Regions from separate parts of the Homo sapiens genome. Here all the other regions are linked to region 1. The links are contacts of gene promoters, found by promoter capture Hi-C in blood cells and fetal thymus (Javierre and others, 2016). All regions are on one chromosome and are shown on one strand. Each heading gives the region's core, a stretch centred on a gene start or on the middle of the fragment in contact. The rest is flanking DNA. Distances are from core to core; before and after follow the strand shown.

Region 1 (2,886 bases), core at 106-2,605:
GGGTGGAAGAGCTGGGCAAGGAGGTGTCCCGGCTGCTTCTGCTGTGGACAGCTGCATGGCCGGAGAGGAGCAGTGAGGCAGGCAAAGCCCCCCTGCAGGGGTCTCCTTGACTCAGGAACATGAGGAAGATGAGGACACTCTGATCCCTGATATTCTTGGACAATTTCCCAGGCCCTCTCACAAGCCCGCAGCTGGAGAAACAATGGTTTCTAAAAGAAACCACTGGAATGTCAGACGGGGCCCTGGGACCTTTAATGGCCAACCCCAGGCAGTTCCAAGAATTACACAACTGGGCCACTTCCAAGATGTTCTTCCTAAGAAGCATGCTGTAAGTAAATCAAAGCCCCACTCCTAGGTCTCACACGAAAGTCTCCACAGCCCCACATTCCCCAACCCCACATCCCGAGAGTCTTCTCTAGGCCTTGGGAGGTCCAGAAGTCAACACCTGCTCACTGGTGAGGTCCCAAAGTGCTTAGTAAGCAAAGTACATTTACAGGTGAATAGCAAGGGAAGGGAGGGGAGGCGAAGCAGGTTCACACACGAGCAAAAACCACTGTCTGGGCTGAAAGGAAGATCGGAGATGATCCAACCCGTTTCTAGAACTGGGGTAGAAGAAGAGGGACGTGGGAGGATATGCAGCTGGTCGAGGGCCCAGGTGAGCCACAGGACAAAGGTGGTGCATCTTATTGGTACCTCAACTTCCCTCACAAACGTTGAAAACGCTGAAAAGGGAGGGAGAGCTATGGATTATATACGGAAGCACAGGACGGAAGAATCAAGAGTGTGAACAATTAACACAGAAAAGACCGATCTTCCACCTCCAGGACCCCCAGGTAGCAGTCCCTCAGGTAGGTGGGAGGAGGACTCTGACAGGATCATTTGGGATGCACGAAGCTAGTGCAAAATGACCCCTATTACAAATGAGAAAACAGGCCCAAGGAGGGCAGGACTCTGCCCAACTGCACCGGAGTTGGCTGCAAAACATCCACTGGGCCTTGCCTATGGGCTCCTCGGACCTTTTTTCGACTCTGTTCTCTCCCTGAAATGGGTCCTCCCACTTTCCCTTTTCTACTTGCTCGCTCTTCTTTCCCCAGGAAACTTTGCAAGAAAGGCAAAAGCGAATCCCAGGAAAAAGACTGGCTCATCAATCACATGTTGACTGCGCTCGCGCGAATTGCGCATGCGCATGCTGAGCCCCACTCTCCCCAACCCCGGTCCCGCCTCTCCACCCCTCACCAACATGGCCGCCTCAGCAACAGCCCCCCTCCTGTGCGTCACGGACGCGGCGACTCCTGACGTCATAGGAAGGCGCCGGTTTCGGCGGGGGCTGCACGTGCGCAGGGGTGTGGAAACTTACCGGCTGAGCCATGGATACACCGTTAAGGCGCAGCCGACGGCTGGGAGGCCTAAGGCCCGAATCCCCCGAGAGCCTCACCTCAGTTTCGCGGACGAGACGGGCCCTTGTGGAGTTCGAGTCGAACCCAGAAGAAACGAGGGAGCCCGGGTCTCCTCCGAGTGTGCAGCGGGCTGGCCTGGGGTCCCCCGAAAGGCCGCCGAAGACAAGCCCAGGATCACCCCGTCTGCAGCAGGGTGCAGGCTTGGAGTCACCCCAAGGGCAGCCAGAGCCAGGCGCAGCGTCCCCCCAGCGTCAGCAAGACCTACACCTGGAGTCGCCTCAAAGACAGCCAGAGTACAGTCCTGAATCCCCACGATGTCAGCCGAAGCCAAGTGAGGAGGCACCAAAGTGTTCTCAGGACCAGGGAGTACTGGCCTCGGAGTTGGCCCAGAATAAGGAGGAGCTGACCCCGGGGGCCCCCCAGCATCAGCTACCGCCGGTCCCAGGATCACCAGAGCCTTACCCCGGTCAGCAAGCTCCCGGTCCGGAGCCCTCTCAGCCACTACTGGAGCTGACACCCAGGGCACCTGGCTCCCCCCGGGGTCAGCATGAGCCGAGCAAGCCACCTCCAGCTGGGGAGACGGTGACAGGCGGCTTCGGGGCAAAGAAGCGAAAAGGTTCTTCATCCCAGGCCCCAGCGTCCAAGAAGTTGAATAAAGAGGAGCTTCCTGTAATCCCGAAGGGGAAGCCCAAATCGGGGCGAGTGTGGAAGGACCGCTCCAAGAAAAGGTGAAGTGGGGGACAGCATGGACAGGGGTGGCGTTCTCTATGGTGTTGGGACCCCGCCTTTGCCCTGCTGCAGCCTGGAGAATAGCCCCAGGGTTAGAGAGAGCTCACGTTAGTGGGGATGTTAGCAAACAGGTAATTACAATCAGAATGTGGTAAAATGCCCTGGGATCCCGGAGAGGGTGGGGCCAGGCCCTCAAAGATCAATTTCTCTGATGCCTTTCCTCCTCAGGGTCCCTATGGGCCTCTCCTGTAGCACCTCAGGTCTGTATTCGTTCAACAGACATTTACCGTTGTCTGCCCTCTCTAGTGAGAGAAGCAGAAGCAAGTAAACCAGCCATTACTTGATCAAAGCAGTGAGGTCTTCATCCAATATAGTCTATTACAGTTATTTGCCTTTAAGATAAAAAGTATTACTGAGCACTGATTATATAAGGATTTACCAGTCAACAGCCTTAATAAGGATTTACCAGTCAACAGCCTTTCAAACATGGAACAGCATGTGTCATCACGCTTAATCTGCACGTCAGCCCTGTGAAGCAGGCGGTGTTATTATTCCTGTTTTTTGTGTGAGGAAACCAAGGCTAAATGAGTGGTAGGCACAGGACCTGAGCACAGATCTGATTCCGAAGCCTGTGTGCAAAAAACCCCTTTACCCAATCCCTGTAGATCCACCTTGAATTGGATTGCGACCTTCTTAAGGGGCAGGCACGAGATCTTTCTTGTCTTTCTGTGCCAAGGGCATAGTAAATGCCCAATGAATG
Region 2 (2,886 bases), core at 218-2,717, 610 kb after region 1:
CTTGAACTTTCTACTAGAACACACTGCCTTACTGCTGGAAATTTAATAGAAGTCTCTGTTTGGGAAAGCTGTGGCAAATAGATGTGACAGTTCTGAGACATGACCTCTGTGTTACATGGTGGGTAGGAATCTGCCAGGTGCTTCGCCAAGTGAGTAGATCTGAACTTGATCACCCAGTGAAGCTTCTGTGAGGAAGCAGCGCAGTGCACTGGTTACACATTTAAATCCTGGCTCTGCTGCTTACCTGCTGGATACATGAATTGACCTGAGCCTCAGTTGCCTCATCTATAAAATGGGGATGACAATGCTTCCTGTCTCAGCTAGTTGATGAGATGAAACACACAAAGCTCTTACATGGTAACTTGCACAGTATGTACTCTAGATATGAATGTCAGCATTTAGTCATAGCCTCAGTCTGAGACTTAAAACCTGTCCCTAACACAAATTGCCTGGCATATCAATGAGGTCACCATAGCTACATCCAGGGTTTCTCATCTGCAGGTCAGAAAGCTGAGCCTATTAATAGAACCACAGAATGTCTTACCTCCCAGTGAAGACGAGAGAGAAAACAGACCCTGGTGACAAGACCTTTGATGGAAAAATCTAGCACTCTCCCCTAAGCAAGGAATGGAAGTGAGACTCGCAGAAGCAGGGCAGGCGAGGAAGGAGACGTCTCCCTGGGAGCTTGCTGAAGACTCTGGCTATTCTCTCGGGCTGCATTTATGTACCCTGGGGAGAATGTTAAGCAGGCCGGGAGTTTATATATAGACATAGATCTGGACTGTACGAAGTGCACATGAATTGGGCGGTGACTTACCCATTTATCCTTTGCACGTTATGCAACAAACCCCAGTAGCCAAGGATGTAGTTGGAACTTTTCTCCCCCTCGGGTTTGATCCCTTCTTATCCTGATTTTGTCTTATTTAACACAATGTTCAATTGCTGCCGCTTTCACCTGGGAATGGCATGCTTCTAGAGGAATTGTTTTCCTCCCAGGCTGCTGGATTGTGTCATCTTTGAAAGTGAAGGATCTTGCTAAGTTCACCTGCTCAGTTGTCAGGCCCAGGGATGCTATGTAAACAGTTTTTCCCTTTATTAGGCATTAAGTAAAACTAGGCCGGCCACAGTGCATTTTTTTAGGAATTAATAAACATATAGCAAGGGCCAGCAGCCCCCGAAGGATCGCTAATGCACAGAAGCTAGACTCATTCCTTTTACTTTGACACATCCCTGCTTACTGACCTCATTCAGAGCCTGTGTGGGGCATATGAGCGTCTGGCCCTGTCCTGACCGACTCAAGTGGTCTTGTGAGTCCTGCACAGGCTCTCCACGTGACACCTTAAATTGGGTCAGGAAAGGCTGTTCTCTTTCCATCGTTTCCTTTTAATCATCCTAAGTCTTAAAAATCCATAAGCCAAACACCTTGTGCTGGAGCTTTCTGTGCCTTAGACAGAGTGTGTCTTTTGGGGGTCATTGTAGAAGCACTCTTACTGGCTTTGAGTGTTATCTGGAGGTCATCTGGTATGTCTTCTGCTCCAGCCAGGGTGGCACCAATACAGACCTGGTTCATATTTTTAAACATCACTGGGAAAAGATTCCGATGGGATAGTTGGGGTCTCTCATTTATCCTTCAGTCCATCTGCAGCTATTTGTGGCTAGACAAAGAGAGGAAGGTTTAATGATAAGCTAAACAGCTGTAGATGGCAAGCAGGTCTGTGAGATTTTTGAGCTGACAGCCCCACTTAATAGTATGTTCTGTAGTATCTGAGGACAGTGGACTCACCATCCCGCAGCTATCAAGTTGATGACACTGATCAGTACCCAGTGAAACTAACTCCTGACACCTCAGTTTCCCAGTGAACCCTCTGGGAATGAGGAGTGGTGTTCGAATTTTCCTGTCAGGGAAGATGGCATTGGTGGGATAGGTGGCTTCAGGCCAGCAGTACTTTTTGTGGCTTAAGAAACAAGTGTTGTTAGCAGTTTGTTAGAGGGGTGGTAGAAAGTTTAAGCTATCCAGGACAACATCAGTCTTTAAAGGAGATGGGTAGATTTATCATCACCTATAGCTGCAAAAGAAGAGTTAAAAGCCTTTTGTTGGATCCCGGATCTCAGACCCCAGATACTCCTTTTTTTTTTTTTTTTTTTGAGACAGGGTCTCACTGTCACCCAGGCTGGAGTGCAGTGGCAGGATCTCCCCTCACTGCAAGCTCTGCCTGGGTTCAAGCGATTCCATGCCTCAGCCACCCTAGTAGCTGGGATTACAGGTGCACGCTACCATGCCTGGCCAATTTTTGTGTTTTTAGTAGAGACGGAGTTTCACCATGTTGGACAGACTGGTCTCGAACTACAGGCCTCATGTGATCCGCCTGCCTCAGCCTCCCAAAGTGCCAAATATTCCTTTCAAAAAGGAGAATGTTTCTTTAAGAAGGGGATTGTATAATCTGTCATGAGATTAGAGTATAAAAGGAAAAAAGTGGGGGAGGGTGGATATATCATTTTCTGTAACAACACATCACAGCATGGAACTTTCAGCAAGTGAGAACGTTAAGATGTACATTCTGTTTCTCAGTGGATTCAGGTGATTTGGCTAATATTTAATAAAATATTCTCCTCTGGTGATGCCCTGGAACACGTGTTTAGGGGAAATAGAACAGAGTAGTTAAGGGGAGCTGTTTAGGAATCAGGCCTAACCTAGAATCCTGGAGCTCCCATTGATTAGCTGGGTGACCTGAAACACATTATTTAACCTCTCCAAGCTTCTGTTTCTCATCTGTGGAAAGGAAAGAAAAGGAACCCGACCTCACAGTGTGGGTATAAGGACTGAATAAAGTCCTGCCCCTGGAGAGCTTAGTACAGCCCCTGTACCCTCAGTAATACTTGGTAGTA
Region 3 (2,886 bases), core at 169-2,668, 580 kb after region 1:
CAGGAGGGCTTAACCCTTGTAAAAACGTTAGAAAAAGAATATCAAGAGACAGTAAACTTTTAGGGGGCAACTTAACAACAAGAAATTAGTGAGGCAAATAAGCACAGGAAGCTTGTTCCATGTAGTCAAATCCATCAAAAAGGATTGTGCATAAAAAGGGTCAGCATGTAAAGAATGAGGAGAGAAGCTAACACTGGAGAGGACAGGGTGGATAATAAAGTAAGGTGAGGTCAGCTAGGGCTAATGAGTGGGAAAACATTTTGTGTGTAAGTAATCACTATAAAATATTTCATAGCTGTTACGTCTCAAACTATCCCAACTCTATAGACAAATCACTCTTCTATTCATGTACCAGGTATGGTGAGTTGCTCCTGTGGTTCAAGGTAGAGAAAGGATTTATATACATCACTTGATCCCATCCAATGCTCAAATCCTTAGAAAGCACTACTTCACACCAAGATTCTTCTTTTTTTCTGAGATAGAGTCTCACTTTGTCACCCAGGTTGAAGTGCAGTGGCGCAATCTTGGCTCACTGCAACCTCCGCCTCCTGGGTTCAAGTGATTCTCCTGCCTCAGCCTCCCGAGCAGCTGGAATTACAGGTGTGCACCACCACACCCAGCTAATTTTTGTATTTTTAGTAGAGATGGGGTTTCACCATGTTGGCCAGGCTGGTCTCTAACTCCGGACCTCAGGTGATCCTCCCACCTCAGCCTCTCAAAGTGCTGGGATTACAGGCGTAAGCCACTGCACCCAGCCTTCTTTTTTTTTAAATCAAGGATTTTCAAATGACACGTAAACAGAATAAGGAAACACATCATCTTGGATAATCGAATGGAACCAAACTGAGATTCCCTTCCATGCAGTATCTGTAATTCAGGTATATGTGTCTAAAATTTGTAATGTAAAAATGATCACTGAAAATTGAGTAGTGGACTAACATGCAGATTTGGACAGCTCAGAGACCAAATGCATCACCAGGAAACCCTTCGTACTATATGCTTAGGCAACCAATCCACTGTTTTAAGATCCCTTAAGAATAGGATAGACTAGATCCTGGAGAATCTTGGTATGGCTACCACTTTTAGAAACAAAAGGATTGAATGAATACAAAATTATCACAAGATTTAAATGGTCTCTCTGGGCCACAGAGCCTCAGTTCAAAGAAGCTGGTGGGAACTGCACAGGGCAGGTCTGTTGAGGGTTCTACTGAAGAAACAAGGTATCAAATTGTTTGGATTTTAATCCCCCAGCATCACAATTCATTTTACTTGTTCAGCTAGTAAGACAGAAACACAGTTAAGGGCCGGAGATTTTTCTCAGCGGATTTATGCAGTAATAGATTAAAGTAAAATCAAATTCTACAAATTAAGTGAAAAGTACATTTTACATGCACTGATGTTCAAAGTTTCATTCCAGGGAGATTAAACATGAAACATATATTTAATACTGAATAACTATCTCAAAGAATTTTGTGTTTAATGGCACAGAAAGAACTGTGACTGTCTCATGAAACTTCCTGCTTCCCTGTAAACAAAAGAGAACATGTGTGATTTTCAATTTAAATAAGATCTTCTCCACTTGTCTGCTCAGTGTTCCTAACCTCCACCCTCTTCTTCCTCATATCCCACTGAGGGAAGTAACTAGCCTAGGATTTATTTTTCTCAGAGCAACCAACTTGATACCATTGTTTCTTTTAATTGTAACCAAGGCTTAATCAAAAATTTTGGCTTTATAATGACCATTTCCACAGTTCCCACTTCACACCCTCCTTGTCCTTCACTGTACATTGTCGTTGTCCACCACCCCTACCCACCAGGAGTGGAATCTGTTTTGAGTACAGGGACCCACTTTTTTTTCCTTTTACCTCACTAGTCCTGGCACAGTGCTTAGCAAACACAAGTAGCTCAATAAATAAATACTTATTGATGGACATAAGGAAGAGAACTGGACACTGTGCAAAGCCTGTCTCAGTATGAAAAGCCAAAACTCCCAGCAGAGCAACTGATCTCAGTCACCTTTCCAGAGTTCTCCCTGGCCCAAGAGAGCCAATGTGAATCCCAGGACTCCCTGTGTTACAGGAATAAAGTAGCTCTGGCAAAAACAGGCTTTTGCAGCAAATGCTCTAAGAGATCAGGGAATAAGCACCATAGGGTTCCATCTAGGAAAAATATTAATTTTCCTTGAGGAGCAAAGTGCACATGAAGGGCTTCCTGTGCATGGGCCAGCTTGGGGCGAAATCAGTAACATTCTTAAAACATTCTAAAACACAATTTGTACTGGGTGCCTTCAGACTAAGCCAGCTTCTAACAATTCTAGCCAAAGTTTTTTTGTTTTTTTGTTTTTTAAATAATTTCTGTAGCTTCCAGATGACACTAACACTAACTTTGTCAAAAATAACTAATTGATATGTGTGTGGGGGGGAAGCACTCATCCCTCACCTTCCACAAAACATAAGATATTCAAAATTCACACTTTCTTCAGCTTGCCTAGTGTCAAATATTGCCCGTTGGATATATGTATCTATTAAAGTCCACATACTACCTTTAGCCTGTCTTAGACCCATAAAAAAGTCCTTTTTAACTGAGGAGACCAGAGAACAAACTATTGAGGCCAATAACTTATACTCTAACAAAGCAGTGACCACTGGACAATGAGTTCTGCGTATTTCTCAAAGTGAAATGAATGGCACTATTATCAATCCACAGATAAGAAATTAGAAGGGGAAAAGCTTTTCATTAATAACAAAGGTGGCTGGGTACGGCGGCTCACGCCTGTAATCCCAGCACTTTGGGAGGCCGAGGTGGGCAGATCACAAGGTCAAGAGATTGAGACCATCCTGGCCAACATGGTGAAACCCCGTCTCTACTAAAAATACAAAAATTAGC
Region 4 (2,886 bases), core at 387-2,886, 560 kb after region 1:
GAGGTTTAGTGGTAAGAAAACAAGTATGTACACAACCAAATCCATTAATCCCCAAACACCCAAGAGGCCCTAGCAGGCAGGATGCACATACACAGGAAACTCTTAAATCCTTCTTTTTTCTTTTTAAAGGAGTCCTGGCTAAAAGTGCCTTTATGAGTATGTGTGTACACAAACACAGCCCCAGAGGTTTTCCAAGTGTACTAAAACTCGAGATTTTAAGTCTTTCCTCGCATGACAGCCATAGGTGAGGAACCAGGAAACATACTAACACTAAGCAGGAGTCACGTGGCCAGGCCAGAACAGAAAGCAGAGCATGGAAGAAACCTAAATGCAGTTAAGAAGTTTTACCCAAAAGGGTCTATTAAGCCACCTGTCACATGGCCACCAAACAAAGTTCCTACTATACTCAGCACCTGTTCCAATGCTGCAATACCCATCTGCGGGTGGTGGTATGGTCAGTCTGAGCATATTAAACAGAATTAATAGCCAAAGGGAAAATGAGGAATTAGAATTTCTCCTAATGCCCAAACTGGCAACACAGCCTACGCACAAATGTTTACCTTTTATATAACTACTTCTGTAAAGTGGCCTTATAAAACCTAGAGGAGACATCTACGTCCTCCCTGATCCTTGTACACACCGAAATGACACTATTTTCAGCTTGGGTCCTCAGAATCTATATGGCCTAAGCCTTCCTGGCCTGTCTAAACACCTACGCAGGCTGGTATTTGTCCCATTTTCTCTAAGGGAAAACTGAAGCCCTCAGTGCACTCAATTACATACCATTAGGGCTTCTGAATCTTTGAATTCGATCCAAATTGAAGAGAAAGCTCAGTTTTCAATGGATAACGAGGACAGGAATGACGTGAGAATGACTATATTTCAAGTAGGATAATGTCCTAAAATAATGAGATAACTGACATAGTTGAGAACTACAAAAAGTTGAAGACACAGGTTGCAGAGGATAACTTGTACACCAAGAGAAGCAAGCCATAGCACTGAATTCTTAAATCTCCATGGCTACATTTTGGTGCCAATGTTGGAATGCAGGCAGAAATCAGAGATTCCTTCAAGTGGGCCAATTAGCCTTCAGGCCCCAGAACTGGGTCTTACGCCGAGAAAAGATGGACAAAGAAGGCTACTGTTCTATTGCTGCCTCTGGACAAAATGTACCTTTCACTCTCAGGGAACAGCTGTCATCATAGAATATAAATATGATTCATTTCTAACTAAAAGGTTGCTATAAATGAGGACCATGTACCATCTTCCCAACATGAAACTTCCTAAGCCATAACTTGGTCACTACAGATGGAATTAAGAGTCCTTAGGGTGAGAATGTAAGAAATTGACATTCTTGGGGTGCCTGATTCAGTTCTTTCAGACTATTATTCAGATGCAATAACCACTATATCAAACGGGTGACCAGGAAAAGTGAGGAAGTAGAAAACCTGCCTCAGAGTTAATTTTTCCCATCTTGTCATGGGCCTACACAAGTCAAATGACTGTTTTCTAGGCAATATTGTTACAGCATTTTCAAAGTTACCAAAAGAGAGTTATCCTCATAATGGGAGAAATAGTCTCATCTTATTTTATTTTTATTACTATTTTTTTTGAGACAGGGTCTTGCTCTATTGCCCAGGCTGGAGTGCAGTGGCACAAACATGGCTCACTGCAGCCTCTATCTCCCGGGCTCAAGTGATCCTCCCACCTAAGTGCCCCCAAGTAGCTGGGACTCCTCCTGCCTCAGCACCCCCAAGTAGCTGGGACTACAGGAGCACATCACCATGCCCAGCTAGTTTTGTATCTCTGGTAGAGACGAGTGTTTTGCCATGTTCCTCAGGCTGGTCCCTGAGCTCAAGCGATCTGCCCCTCTCGGCCTCCCAAAGTGTTGAAGTTACAGGCATGAGCCACTGTGCCTGGCCCCATTTTATAAGTGGAAGAAATAATGCAAAGTGACAGCTAAAGACTCAGGTTGAGATGTTTAATTCTCAAACTACTGCTGGATCAGTGGATCTCGCTGGTAATTTCCCTGTCATAAGGCTGTCAGGAGCAAAGCCATCAGGAATGGTGACATGCATTTATGTTCTAACTACTAAACTGAATGCAGCCCCAAAGACGACAGTGCATGCTCTGCACAGGTCAATCATCACCTTCCTGTTCACTCTTATCCCAGTCAGCTCCAAAAGACATACACTGTAGCCTACATGTGCTTTTCAACCCACAAGTAACACTAGCAACTGTGCAGACTCAAACAAGAAAAGGGAGTTAGGACTGGACCAAGACCAACTCTAATGCCTGCCCTCATGCCCACCTGAGACTGAATTAGGCCAAAGTTGTTTGTGGTCTCCATCTACAATAGCGTCTGCTTTTCCAGAGGATACATGGGCATCTCCCCAAACTCAACCTGTTGCAAAATCTAGAAAGAAGTACCTGGAGCCCACAGCCTAACTGTTGATTCTACATGAGTTAACCTAGATTTCAATGATGTTAAGCACTCTAGGATTTTGTGGAATAAATGAGTGGCTAACAACAGAGAACAGAGACAAAAAATATTAGTAATTTTTCATCTTTCCACTTACTTGTTTGGGAGAAGATAAAAACAATTCCTGGCTATAAATCTATTTAAGCTAATGGCCAAAGAACAAGACAGAGGGCAGTAGCCAAACCTAAAAGGAGTATTTTGGTTTTTAGTAGGTTGTCACTGGGCAAAATACTGCTAATTTTCCAACTATTTACATTCCAGCTACTGCTCATGAACTATAGGGGCTCACAGGTGGTGAGTTTCTTTGTCCTTCTTCATCCAGATATCGCCATCCCAAAGACACCAAAAAGAACTACTATTCTTTCCCCTCACCTTCCTTTTCAATTACCATTACTTTAGATCAA
Region 5 (2,500 bases), core at 1-2,500, 520 kb after region 1:
TGTAATCCCAGCTTCTTGGGAGGCTGAGGCAGGAGAATCACTTGAACCTGGGAGGCAGAGGTTGCAGTGAGCCATGATCATGCCACTGCACTCCAGCCTGGGCGACAGAACAAGACTCCATCTCAAAAAAAAAAAAATGTTTAAGAGTGTCAGATAGCCTGGGCAACATAGTGAGACCTTGTTTCTATTAAAACATAATTTTATTTTTTTTTTTTTGAGATGGAGTCTAGCTGTGTCGCCAGGCTGGAGTACAGTGGCACAATCTCAGCTCACTGCAACCTCCGCCCCCTGGGTTCAAGCAATTCTCCTGCCTCAGCCTCCCTAGTAGCTGGGATTATAGGTGTGCGCTACCACACCCCACTATGTATTTACCACACCCAGCTACTTTTTGTATTTTTAGTAGAGACGGGGTTTTGCCATGTTGGCCAGGCTGGTCTCAAACTCTTGACCTCAAGTGATCTGCCCACCTCGGCCTCCCAAAGTGCTGGGATTACAGGCATGAGCTAATTTTTTTTTTAATTAGCTGAGTATAGTGGCACACACCTGTGGTCACAGCTACTCAGGAGGGTGAGGCGGGAGGATCACTTGAGCCCAGGAAGTTGCTGCAGTGAGCTGTGATCATACCACTGCACTCCAGTCTGGGCAACAGAATGAAACCCTGTCTCGAAAAATAAGGAGTATCAGAGAATCTTCTATAGGACTATGTATGGAAGAAATTTTAAAAATAAAAAAGAGTATTAGAGCAGGAAAGCCTTGACTATGGACTGCAAACCCAACTGATGGGGCCAGTGGGTAATTTTAGGTAATTTTAGCTTCATGTCATTCAGGTCCCAAAACCCATGTTATCTCTGTGAGGGTTTAAGATGTCAGATGCCTATCTCACAACAAAGGACAGGCCTCGTGGTGTCCCTCAGGACATAGTACCTGCTCTTGGGTCCTCACACAGGCCTTCATTGGTTGTACTTTTTTTTATGTCTACAGCATCCAGGATATTGCAGTCCTCTTCAACATCATCATCATTTTCCTCATGTTCTTCAACACCTTCGTCTTCCAGGCTGGCCTGGTCAACCTCCTATTCCATAAGTTCAAAGGGACCATCATCCTGACAGCTGTGTACTTTGCCCTCAGCATCTCCCTTCATGTCTGGGTCATGGTAAGAGTGGCAGTCTGAATTCTTTTTTTAATTTTTATTTTAAATAGAGGTGGGGTCTTACTTTGTTACCAAGGCTGGTCTCAAACTCCTGAGCTCAAGCAATTCTCCTGCTTCTGCCTCCCAAGCTCAAGCAATTCTCCTGCTTCTGCCTCCCAAAGTGCTGGAATTACAGGCATGAGTCACTGTGCCCGGCCTGAACTCTGAATTCCTGAATCGCTAAAGGGCTAGGAATAACTTTTCTTTTCTTTTCTTTTCTTTTTTTTTTTTTTTGAGACAGAGTCTCGCTCTGTCGCCTGGCTGGAGTGCAGTGGCGTGATCTCAGCTCACTGCAACCTCCGCTTCCTGGGTTCAAGCAATTCTCCTCCCTCAGTCTCCTGAGTACCTGGGATTACAGGCACGCACCACCACGCCCAGCTAATTTTTGTGTTTTTAGTAGAGACTGGGTTTCACCATGTTGGCCGGGATGGTCTCAATCTCTTGACCTCGTGATCCTCCTGCCTCGGCCTCTGAAGTGCTAGGATTACAGGCGTGAGCTACTGCGCCCGGCCACTGGGATATCTTTTCTCTGGGAACCCAGCTTCATTCTTTGACATCTCACACAATCCTTCGTAGAGAACAGGTGAAATGAAAGTGGTTTGGGTTGGAGCCCTGGGCATGTGAGAGTTTCATAAGGTACTCTTGACCAACCTTATGTGTTGAAAAACAGCCTTGTCCAAGAGTCAGGGGACTCTTCCAGAACATTCAATTCACCTTTGCCCCAAACAGGCCTACCAGGGCTAAAACAGGTAGTTGAATGTGTCTCATCATTAGCTATTTGGGCAGGTGGATGTTGATACAGGTTATTCTTAGGCATCAGTGCCCCATGGCTAATGCTGTAGGCAGTGGATGTTTTTGGAAGTAGCCAAGCAGGATTGCTGCTTGCCCTTGAGTGCTCCATGCCGTCTGCCAAGCTCCCATCACTTTAACTAGGAGAACCGGCCTCCAGGATCCCTCCCTTTGGTTCTAACATAGGCCTCAGATCAGATCCAGTGTCTGTGGTTTCAGATTTCTTCTGCTTCACAAATTCTTCCAGCTCTTTGAGTATCTTGTATATTTCTCATGTACTCAATTCAATTGAACTCTAAAACCTCAGGGTTCTCTAGTTGTCACTTCATTATTAAAGCCACTTTCACACCTGAACCCCCTGTTAGGTTGTGCTTGTGATTCCACAGAAAGAAGTAGAGGTCCCAGGAAAGAAGCAAAGCAACACCAGAGTCTCCGGGTGCTTCCTGAAGAGGATTCTGTGCCCTGGTTCCTGGAGCCAAAATAGGTCCTGGCTTTGTACTATAAAAGCCGTTAATCTCATTA

Evidence for each region. The method cuts DNA at HindIII sites, captures the fragments that hold promoters and counts their contacts. A CHiCAGO score of 5 or more calls a contact.
Region 2: a fragment that was not itself captured here is called in contact with the fragment with the promoter of CCDC86 in region 1 in 1 of 17 cell types (non-activated CD4 T cells); the score reaches 5.1 in non-activated CD4 T cells.
Region 3: a contact is called between a fragment that was not itself captured here and the fragment with the promoter of CCDC86 in region 1, in 6 of 17 cell types (total CD4 T cells, total CD8 T cells, activated CD4 T cells and 3 more). The highest score is 8.7, in total CD4 T cells.
Region 4: a fragment that was not itself captured here is called in contact with the fragment with the promoter of CCDC86 in region 1 in 3 of 17 cell types (total CD8 T cells, naive CD4 T cells and non-activated CD4 T cells); the score reaches 5.9 in total CD8 T cells.
Region 5: a contact is called between a fragment that was not itself captured here and the fragment with the promoter of CCDC86 in region 1, in 3 of 17 cell types (activated CD4 T cells, naive CD4 T cells and naive CD8 T cells). The highest score is 7.6, in activated CD4 T cells.

Annotation. Positions count from the first base shown.
Region 1 is chr11:60,840,758-60,843,643 of GRCh38, forward strand. It overlaps CCDC86 (coiled-coil domain containing 86), which reads left to right and starts at 1,356. Exons shown (of 4, transcript NM_024098.4): 1 at 1,356-2,125. The coding sequence starts at 1,368. It overlaps CCDC86-AS1 (CCDC86 antisense RNA 1), which reads right to left. Exons shown (of 2, transcript NR_182293.1): 2 at 1,049-1,223. RefSeq lists enhancers at 446-1,645, 1,552-1,781. The HindIII fragment of the contact is 9,112 bases long and covers 1-2,886 here.
Region 2 is chr11:61,447,436-61,450,321 of GRCh38, forward strand. No RefSeq gene overlaps it. Among named protein-coding and RNA genes, the nearest start is that of SDHAF2, 19 kb to the left of the region's middle. The HindIII fragment of the contact is 2,574 bases long and covers 181-2,754 here.
Region 3 is chr11:61,423,996-61,426,881 of GRCh38, forward strand. The region is part of intron 2 of CPSF7 (cleavage and polyadenylation specific factor 7); the gene reads right to left. Among named protein-coding and RNA genes, the nearest start is that of CPSF7, 4.5 kb to the right of the region's middle. The HindIII fragment of the contact is 2,618 bases long and covers 110-2,727 here.
Region 4 is chr11:61,405,149-61,408,034 of GRCh38, forward strand. All of the region lies in intron 9 of CPSF7 (cleavage and polyadenylation specific factor 7), which reads right to left. Among named protein-coding and RNA genes, the nearest start is that of TMEM216, 14 kb to the left of the region's middle. The HindIII fragment of the contact is 9,423 bases long and covers 1-2,886 here.
Region 5 is chr11:61,365,064-61,367,563 of GRCh38, forward strand. TMEM138 (transmembrane protein 138) reads left to right here. Exons shown (of 5, transcript NM_016464.5): 3 at 982-1,153. Among named protein-coding and RNA genes, the nearest start is that of TMEM138, 3.9 kb to the left of the region's middle. The HindIII fragment of the contact is 5,415 bases long and covers 1-2,500 here.